2 separate regions of the Homo sapiens genome follow, and region 2 is linked to region 1. The links are contacts of gene promoters, found by promoter capture Hi-C in blood cells and fetal thymus (Javierre and others, 2016). All regions are on one chromosome and are shown on one strand. The core of a region is centred on a gene start or on the middle of the fragment in contact, and the rest is flanking DNA. Distances in the headings are between cores, read along the strand shown. Region 1 overlaps TTC12 (tetratricopeptide repeat domain 12). Region 2 holds the start of HSPB2 (heat shock protein family B (small) member 2).

Region 1 (4,632 bases), core at 2,088-4,587:
GAGCAATGAACAAAATGTGGGAGGACAGCTCTGCGAAAAGAACTGCCTGACATGAGCTGAGGCCTTCACCAGAGCCGAAGGCCAGGAGAATAAATACCCCAATCTCACTTTTCCTCCTTCCTTCTCATTTTATTGGCTGAATGCAAATGGAAGCTAGAGGGCTAGGAAGCCAAGGAGCCAGTCCACACAGGTCAGCCCTCCAGGGCACAAAGCAGGGAAGGATCTAGAGGGACAGAGAAAATACCCAGCTCACTAGCCACATCCAAGAAGGAAGAGCTGGATTCTGGAGTCTACCCTGCTGTGAATGTTCCAGAAAAACACCAAATGATAAAGGGGATAAAAAAGACAGATAATTAGAGCTCTCATACACTGCTGGTGGGCATTAAAATGGCACAGCCCATCTGGAAGATAGCCTGGAAGTTCTTCAGAAGGTTAAATATGTTACCATATGACCCAGTAATTTTACTCCTAGGTATATACCAAAGAAGAATATAAATATACATCCATACAAATGCTTACACATGAATGTTCATAGCAGAATTATTCATGATAGTCAAAAGGCAACAATCCAAATGTCCATCAGTGATGAAGGGATACATAAAATATGGTATATCCACACAATGGAAAATTATTCAGCAATAAAAAGAAATGAAGAGGAGTTGATACATACTATAACATGGATGAATCTTAAAAGCATTACGATAAATGAAAGAAGCCAGTCATAAAAGGACAAATGTATGATTTCATTTATATAAAATGTCCAGAACAGACAAAGGTATAGAGACAAAAAGTAGATTGGTGATTATCTTGGGCTGGGAGTAGTAATGGGAGGATTGGGGGAGTTGACAGTTGAAGATGGAGCTTTTTTGGGGGATGATGATGAAATGTTCAAAAATTGATTGTGATGGTTGCACAACTCTGTGATTATACTAAAATTCCATTAAATTGTGTACTATAAAAGGGTGAACTGTATGGTATGTGAATTATATCTCAATAACGCTGTTATCAAAAGATAATAAAGCTCTGCTTCTGTCCTCCCGAGCACAGCAGAAAAAAAAAATGAAAGAAGTAGAGTGACATATGAGAGTCAGAGCATCACCATGAAGCCTTAGTATCAAATGCCTGGGGCACTCTTTTAGAATCCCCTAGAATTGGGGAAAATCTTGAAAATCAAGAATTGACTCAGAATTCCGTGATCCATTCAAACTGAACTGATTGAGAACTTAGTTCAATGTTTCTAAGGACTAGAGGAATATAAACAAATGAAAGACTATAAACAAGCACAATGGCTACTATAACCTCTCTATTAATTACTGGACACAGTAAGTGGTCAATAAAGTCTTATCAAATTGCACTAAGTAACTCTGAAGCACTCTTCTTCTGGAAAGCTCCCTGAGAGGCAGCATCGATCATCCCATTTGTACGAAAGGATAGCCAAGCACCAGGAGTGGTGGCTTTTCCAGGGTTCCATCAGCAACCAATAATAAAGCCAGTACTACACATAGGATTGTCCATGATCAAAACTGTACCAGGGCACTGCAACACAATCTTAACAACGAACCTCATGAGATACTTACATGGACAAGCCAATTGTGGGGTCAATGTTGCAACTCACAGGGAATCCAAGTATCCAACCCAAGTGAGGAGGGAGTAGGCAACAGCCAGCAAATGAATTGAAATCATGCCGCTCTTGGCTCCCATAGCAAGGAAGCTGCGAGTGGTGCTTTCATTAACTCATGTTCTGTACTAATTAGAGAAGACGACTCTTTGAGCTATCTGTTCTGTAAAGCATCATCCTTTTCTCCAGGGTCTCAGGTTTCATTTGAAAATTAGAGGATGTGAAGAGGAAGCTGGCATCATTCTAGACAGCTGTGGCCATGATTTCATGGCACTATTATTTAGGATACATGCAGACTCTGAAGAAGTCTTTATGGGTTCCAACAATTTCTCTACACAGCCTTTTACTTTTTTTTTTCTTTCTCTCTTAAGGCTTGGATTAAACACCCTATAACTTCCTCAATCTCTTTTGCTTTTGCACATTTTAAAAAGGAACTACTTTTTCCAAACAGCAATTAAACTCCAGATTTATCTAAATTATACCGGCAATCTATTGATCATAACATTAACTCCAGGGGAAAAACAAAGCAATGAAAGGTTAGGTTTTCTCTCTAGCAAGCAACACTCAATTTACAGGGTCCTTATTAAGTGTTTTCTGACACTGCATGCATACAGGGGAAGCATTTTAAAAATAGTCAATGGTTCAAACGGTTTGTAACACCAGGGAGCACATTGTCCATTATTTTGTCTCTGCATAAGCTTTCTCCTTGGGAAAGCTGAGAGGAATCACTCCCTCAAACCTTTTCATTACATTTCCTTATATTTATCCACATTCATTCTTAATGTGATTCTTCAGAACTAATCAAAGTGCTGCTTAAAAATGAGTGCAGTGAAAATATAATTTAGATGAATCAGAGTATAGACAGTCTGAATTAGATATGTCTGAAATTATATAACTTTTTTAAAGCAATTCAATTTTGTTGCTTTCAAATAATTTCAGAGTAACACAACTGAATAAGCATCAGTAGGCAGATGTTTTTAGAGACCAAATTTGGTAATAAATAAGAAGGAACTATAATTATTCTATTAATTGCTTGCATTTAAGTGATGCCTCTGAATTGTCAACAGAAACTTAACTCCCTTAATTGGACTTATTGTGCTTTTAACGTTATGTAACTAAAAAAGGATTTATTGAACATCTGCTATAAATAAAGCATTAGGGGAAAAAGTATATGGCAGTTTTTGCCCTCAAAAAGTTTATAATCTTGTTCGGGTAATGCAATGTACTGCTAAATCAACCTCTGGCCATCTTTTTTACCGATTCACTTCCTTATAACAAGTTTTCTCCAAAATTGGGATAGTTTAAATGACACTTCAACTCTAGTCTAACATATCCAAATTGCTAAACTAGTGAGATTATACTGCTTGGATTTATTTATCATTAAGTCACTGTCACTCCCCATATGTTTCGGCTTCCGAATGTCCTGTTTCTTGCTTCCAGTCCTCTTCCTCAACATCCCAGAGCCAGACATTCTTAAACTCGAGTTAGGGAAATTAGAGCTGATGAGGACTCTGCTGAGCCTCTCCCTCTTGCAAATGACAGGGCATCAAGTCCACCTCACACAGGTCCTGCTGACATATTCTGACCATGGGGTAATCATGTCCATGAATCTGCCAATTTTTCAGGCCTGTCCAGCAGAGAACTCTACCACACAAAAACTAAACTACTTTTCAAAGATAAGGTCACAGGTGATGGTTTTGTTTCAGTTGAGAGCTATCAGCCTATCCCTTCATTAAGTAGTAAATAAACATCTGGGTGGTTTTTACCTGGTGTTCCAGGAAATTGAGCTCATTTGTGACATATACTAATGCATAAAAACCTTCAGAAACCCAAAATTTCCAAGAAATTGGCTCCAGGACCATTGGCTATCCACTTTATCCCTGTCGCAGAATCTTAAAGAGAGACTGATACAATGAATGAGAAACTAACAGGTGGGCATCCGCTAGGAGTTAAGACTAGTACCAAAAAAGGAGGCTGAAGAAATATGTTGGTAGCAGAATTCTAAGGTCCCATAGGTCATTTCATTCCACTAGTTTTCTCCTTTATCCACAGGGACAAGTGCATGGTCACCATCAGTGATATGATGGAGCTGACTTATACTATGGAGAGAGCTGATAATGGACAGCTCTTCCCAAGTCCTCCTGCAGTGATTCCAAATTAGATCATGGTGAGAATATTTGCATCATGGAAACTGGTAAATGCTGTGTATAAGTCAGCTCCTCCCACACTTAAAACAAGAGCCAGTTCTTATAAACATTTCCCAGCCCAACATCTAGCCTCATCTTTGTTTTCCCAAGTTTAGTGGCAACTATTCCCTGAGAAAGCCCCATGGATACATCCCTGCCTCACTGACCTGGGCTCGGTTGGTGTACAGCACTTTCATGTCCTTCAGCTTCTCCAAACCCTCACTGTAGCGCAGGATAGCTGTTTCATAATTGCCTTCAGCAAATGCTTCATTCCCTTTTTCTTTTAGGGCTATGGGAATATAAGTTACACAGGTGAGCTCTCACCACACATCAGAAAATCTCTCAGACTTTATTCCCCCGATTTTCCAATTCTATTTCGAAGGTCTTCACTTCTATCGATCCTAAAGGGACTTGACACTTGTTTTTTTCTGCAGATACTTCAGGACCAGCTTCTTCAAGTATTTTTTTTCCTCCAAATCCACCCATGTCTTCTAAGTAGATTCTCAGAAAAAGTAAATGTTTCTGCATTGAGGCTGAGAACCATACTAAGCTTGCCACAGAGACCAAATCTGTGCATTCGGTGTCTCATAAAGAGGGTCAAATAATTAATTTTCCCAACAAATATGGAATCATTCAGACCTGCAGCACACACAGCCCTGGGTGGTATAAAATAAAAGTGAAAACATTCTTCTATCATATGTATCTCCCTGCAACATACACAATCCCATCCCTTCCTTTTCCTTGATGTCTCCTCTCCTATCTCACAGCTGTTTTATTTTTCTTTTCCACTTCTTCATCTATGCCTTAGGCTAGCCAGTGGCAGCTCAC
Region 2 (4,663 bases), core at 2,164-4,663, 1.4 Mb after region 1:
CCATTGTGTTTGTTTTCCAGAGAAGTTACTGAAATGCAGATTTTGATTCAACAAAAGGAGGAATTTATAACGGTTAAGTCAGTTAAGACCAAAAAGAAAATGGAAGGCCAGGTACAGAGGCTCACACCTGTAATCCCAGTACTGTGGCAGACCAAGGATAGAGGATTGCTTGAGTCCAGGAGTTCAAGACCAGCCTGGACAACAAGGCGAGACCTCATCTCCAGAAAAAGTAAAAAATTAGCCAGGCGTGGTGGCACACACCTGTAGTCCCAGCTACTCAGGAGGCTGAGGCAGGAGGATTGCTTGAGCAAGGGAGGTTGAGGCTGCAGTGAGCCATGATCATGCCACTGCACTCCATCCTGAGCAACAGAACAAGACCCTGTCTAAAAAAGAAAAGAAAGAACATGGAAACGACTACCGTGAGAAGTTCTAAGTTGTCTGTTATTCAGAATGTCCCCGAATAAGTTGATTAATAACTTTAAAAGCATTTGAATGGAGAGGGGATTTGGACTAAATCAGAAGTTTTCAAATTTCTTATAGCTAGGAAACCCTTTCCTTTAAATAAAGCTCAGTTACAAAACATATCAATGTGAAGCTATTTTGGTTGAAGTCTAAGTAGAATCCTTTTCTTATTATTTTTCTTCTCAACTAGATTCTGGAAAGTTGACAATAAAAGCTAATAGTTTTTATAATTTATATTTACAATGTATATCCCCCAAGGTGTATTACATGAGGTTTGATAAATATTTACTGAATGAATGAATGAACAGTTAAATATGTCAAATGTTATTTCTCTGGGGCATGCTTTCATTTTTAATAGACAGCAATCTTTTAACCAAAAGTCGAATTCCTCAAGTGAGTTCTGTTATCCTGGAGGTCCACAGATCCCTAAGGGGGGTATGTGAATGGGTCTTAAGAGTTGTGGGAACCTATTCAAATTGTATTGCCAAATTTGGGAGCATATGTATTTTTCTGGTAAGAGCAGCTATAGCTTTTGTCAGATTTTCAGAAGGGTCTATAACTCCCAAAAGTTAAGAAACAACCACTTAATTTAATTCAATTCAATTTAATTTTTTTGAGGCAGGGTCTCACTCTGTCACCCAGGCTGGAGTGCAGTGGCGCAATCTCAGCTCACTGCAGCTTCAACCTCCCTAGCTCATCCTCCCACCTCAGCCTCCCAAGTAGCTGGGACTACAGGCATGCACCACCATGCCTGGCTAATTTTTATTTTTTTGTAGAGACAAGGTTGCACTCTATTGCCCAGGCTGGTCTCTTACTCTTGGGCTCAAGTGATCCTCCTGCCTCGGCCTCCCAAAGTACTGGGATTACAGGTGTGAGCTGCTGCACCCAGCCAAGAAACAACTGCTTTAATGGAAGAATTGTAGGTATCTACCACAGCCTAATGAAATATGTATTTGGAGGCAGGAAGGTCTTTTGGACACTTCCCCCAAATCATGTAGCTGGATGTTCTCTTGATTGCAGAGAATAACTGAGGGGACAGACCTCAGGCTTTCCTGAATACACCGTACCCCCAGAGGATGGGAAGGTAATGGGGTTCCGTGATAATTGGAGAGGCTTTGTGTCTGTGCCCTGTGTATGCATACTCAGGCTCTCAAAATCAGTGACCATTTAAGTGGACAGACCTTAGTACATGAAAACAAAGTATTCACTCCAGGACTTTAGGCAACTCTCACCAGCCAAAAACCATTTTCCCAGCCCCTACCCAAAAAGGGCCAGACAGTCTGGAGACCCTTGTTTTTGTGTCTCTAATCACCAGCTCAGACAGTGCCCTCTGGGCTGTTTGGATGGCATATCCCTTTTCCCTCCCAGGATCACTCTCTCTTTTGTTGCATTGTGAGAAAATTATGGCTAGGAATTTGATCTGGAGCCAGAGTCAGCTTCCGGGTGTGATCTCAGCATCCAAGTGCGAGCTCAGGGTCCTATGACGTTGGGCACATCAAACTGAGGAGCTTTTTGTCTAGCTGGCTGTGACCTCCTCCCTCCCTCCCCATCCCAGCTTCCCGGCCACAGAATAGGGAGCAGTACAAACAAGGCCCTGAGATTTGGGTTTATTCAGCTCCACCCAAAACTAAACCAAGGCTATGACATGTCCCATGGGACCAAACCATACATTGTGGACCATGCACCTTTCCCTTCCCCCAAGGATGCTGCTACCTCTGGAGTGGTGGGCAGCTGCCCATATCACCTTGGGAGGTAGAGAGGGATTTGCTGGGTGCTGGGTCTGTGGCAATCAGGGCTCAACTATGGCTGCCTCCTCCTCTTCCTCTGGATCAGGAGGCGCAGGGAGCAGGGAGATGTAGACCTCATTGACCTCTGTGTCCAAATGTCGGCCACCCCGAGGTGCTTCCAGGTTTAAGATGCCATCATGGGAGAGAGCAGCTCGGACTCGCCAGGGGTCGACATCAGCAGGCAGGACATAGGTGCGGCAGAACTCTCGGGACACGAAGCCGTGGCGGTCCAGGCGCTGGGGGTGCCGGGCAGACACCTCCAGCAGGTTATCCACAGTCCTCACAGTCACCTCGTCTGGGGTAAAGTGGCTCACATCCAGAAATGCCTGGAACTTGCCCTCACTGAGCCTAAGCTCGGAGGCCCCTGCCCTGCTGCCCTCCCCAGCTGGGGCGGCCCGAGGCCGGACATAGTAGCCATGGTAGAGTGTGGGGGTCAGGATCTCTTCTGGCAGGAGGCCTAAAGGGCAGAGAGAAGGCAAGAGGCAGGATGAGGGAGGATGAGGCTGGCACAGGGGCGAAATGGGAAATCTGGAGAGGAGGGATTGGGAAGAGCAAGAGGGGAGTCAGGAGGAGTAGGGAACGGGAGGGAGGCCACACTGTAGCTAGGAGGAGAAGGCAGCTCGGAAGAGGGGAAAGAGAACGGAAAGGAAAGGGAGGAGGAGGAGGAGAAGGAGGAGGAGGGGGAGGAGGAGGAGGCACCAAACGGCCTGGGTGGATAGAAGGGGGACAAGGAGGCACACCCAGGCCGGCAAAGAGCAGGTATCAGCACTGCAAGCACCAAGTGTGTCTTGAGGTCAGCAGGAATGGGAAAGATCTCTGCTTGGAGGGGATGAGGGGTAGTCTGGGGTGGGGGGTGGCTGGTCCCAGGAGATCAGTTAAGCCCAGAGTGGGGTGGAGGCCAGCAACGTTGGGAGGTCAGCCCAGAATTTCAGGGGGTGGGGGTGGGGGGCAAGGGGGTGGTGTCTGTGCCATACCTTCTCCGAAGCGCTGCTCACCCAGGCGGCTCGGGTTGGCAAATTCGTACTCGGCGGTGGCCGGGTGGGCATGTGGCACTGAGCGGCCCGACATGGCTGCAGATGCAGCAGAAGCCCTGGTCCGAGGTGCAGCCCCAACAGGCGCAGCGCGACCCCTCCAGCTGCCCGGAGAGCCAGGGCTCGATAGGAGGTGGGGGCGGGGTCGACACCACCCAAAATAGTGCCGAGCCTCTTGGGGGGGGAGGGGCTGGGAGTGGGGGCCCTGAGTGAGAGCAACGAGGGTGTGACCAGCGCCGCCCGGACCCCTAGTCCCCTCCCCCGCACACTCTTCAGCTGTCGCAGGGGGCCTGAGAGGACAGCTGAGGGTCCTGGCTGGGAACGAGCTGGGGAGGGGGAGCTGGTGGTGCCTGGGGCATGAAGAGGCCTCGCTGAGACCCTCACAAACGGTTTGCACGTTTCCACACCTCATTTTCTCCTCTTCGGTGGCAGGCACTGTGCACCCAATTCCTAAAGCACTCCTGGATTTAATGTTCTGAGAGCCACATAGAACGAAAGATGCAAGAAATCTGTTTGCTCTTTTTTCAGGGGGTGGGGTCTTTCTGCCCAGATGTGGGATCCTCTCCTAAACCCAGGTCAACCCAGGGCACGAGGCAGATGGCTGGTGCTGACATGTTGACCATCACTGCTCTCTTCCAAGGACTCACAAAGAGTTAATGTCCCTGGGGCTCAGCCTAGGAAGATTCCAGTCCCTGCCCAGGCCCAAGATAGTTGCTGGCCTGATTCCCCTGGCATTCAGGACTGGAAAGGAGGAGGAGGGGCACACTACGCCGGCTCCCATCCTCCCCCCACCCCGCGTGCCTGCTTGGGATTCCTGACTCTGTACCAGCTTCAGAGAACAGGGGTGGGGGTGGGTGCCATTGGGTGTGGACAGAAAGCTAGTGAAACAAGACCATGACAAGTCACTGGCCGGCTCAGACGTGTTTGTGTCTCTCTTTTCTTAGCTCAGTGAGTACTGGGTATGTGTCACATTGCCAAATCCCGGATCACAAGTCTCCATGAACTGCTGGTGAGCTAGGATAATAAAACCCCTGACATCACCATTCCAGAAGCTTCACAAGACTGCATATATAAGGGGCTGGCTGTAGCTGCAGCTGAAGGAGCTGACCAGCCAGCTGACCCCTCACACTCACCTAGCCACCATGGACATCGCCATCCACCACCCCTGGATCCGCCGCCCCTTCTTTCCTTTCCACTCCCCCAGCCGCCTCTTTGACCAGTTCTTCGGAGAGCACCTGTTGGAGTCTGATCTTTTCCCGACGTCTACTTCCCTGAGTCCCTTCTACCTTCGGCCACCCTCCTTCCTGCGGGCACCCAGCTGGTTTGACACTGGACTCTCAGAGGTGAGTCTCCCCACAGCTAGGACGGGAGAGTCCTTACTGG

What was found. The method cuts DNA at HindIII sites, captures the fragments that hold promoters and counts their contacts. A CHiCAGO score of 5 or more calls a contact.
Region 2: a contact is called between the fragment with the promoter of HSPB2 here and a fragment that was not itself captured in region 1, in 2 of 17 cell types (monocytes and neutrophils). The highest score is 5.7, in monocytes.

What each region holds. Positions count from the first base shown.
Region 1 is chr11:113,324,985-113,329,616 of GRCh38, reverse strand. TTC12 (tetratricopeptide repeat domain 12) reads right to left here. Exons shown (of 22, transcript NM_017868.4): 6 at 3,972-4,093. Among named protein-coding and RNA genes, the nearest start is that of TTC12, 13 kb to the right of the region's middle. The HindIII fragment of the contact is 2,038 bases long and covers 2,319-4,356 here.
Region 2 is chr11:111,911,484-111,916,146 of GRCh38, reverse strand. It overlaps HSPB2 (heat shock protein family B (small) member 2), which reads right to left and starts at 3,413. Exons shown (of 2, transcript NM_001541.4): 1 at 3,224-3,413; 2 at 2,054-2,706. The coding sequence starts at 3,317. The coding sequence ends at 2,252. CRYAB (crystallin alpha B) reads left to right here and starts at 4,377. Exons shown (of 3, transcript NM_001289808.2): 1 at 4,377-4,623. The coding sequence starts at 4,423. It overlaps HSPB2-C11orf52 (HSPB2-C11orf52 readthrough (NMD candidate)), which reads right to left and starts at 3,411. Exons shown (of 5, transcript NR_037651.1): 1 at 3,224-3,411. RefSeq lists an enhancer at 2,009-2,662. The HindIII fragment of the contact is 6,880 bases long and covers 1-4,334 here.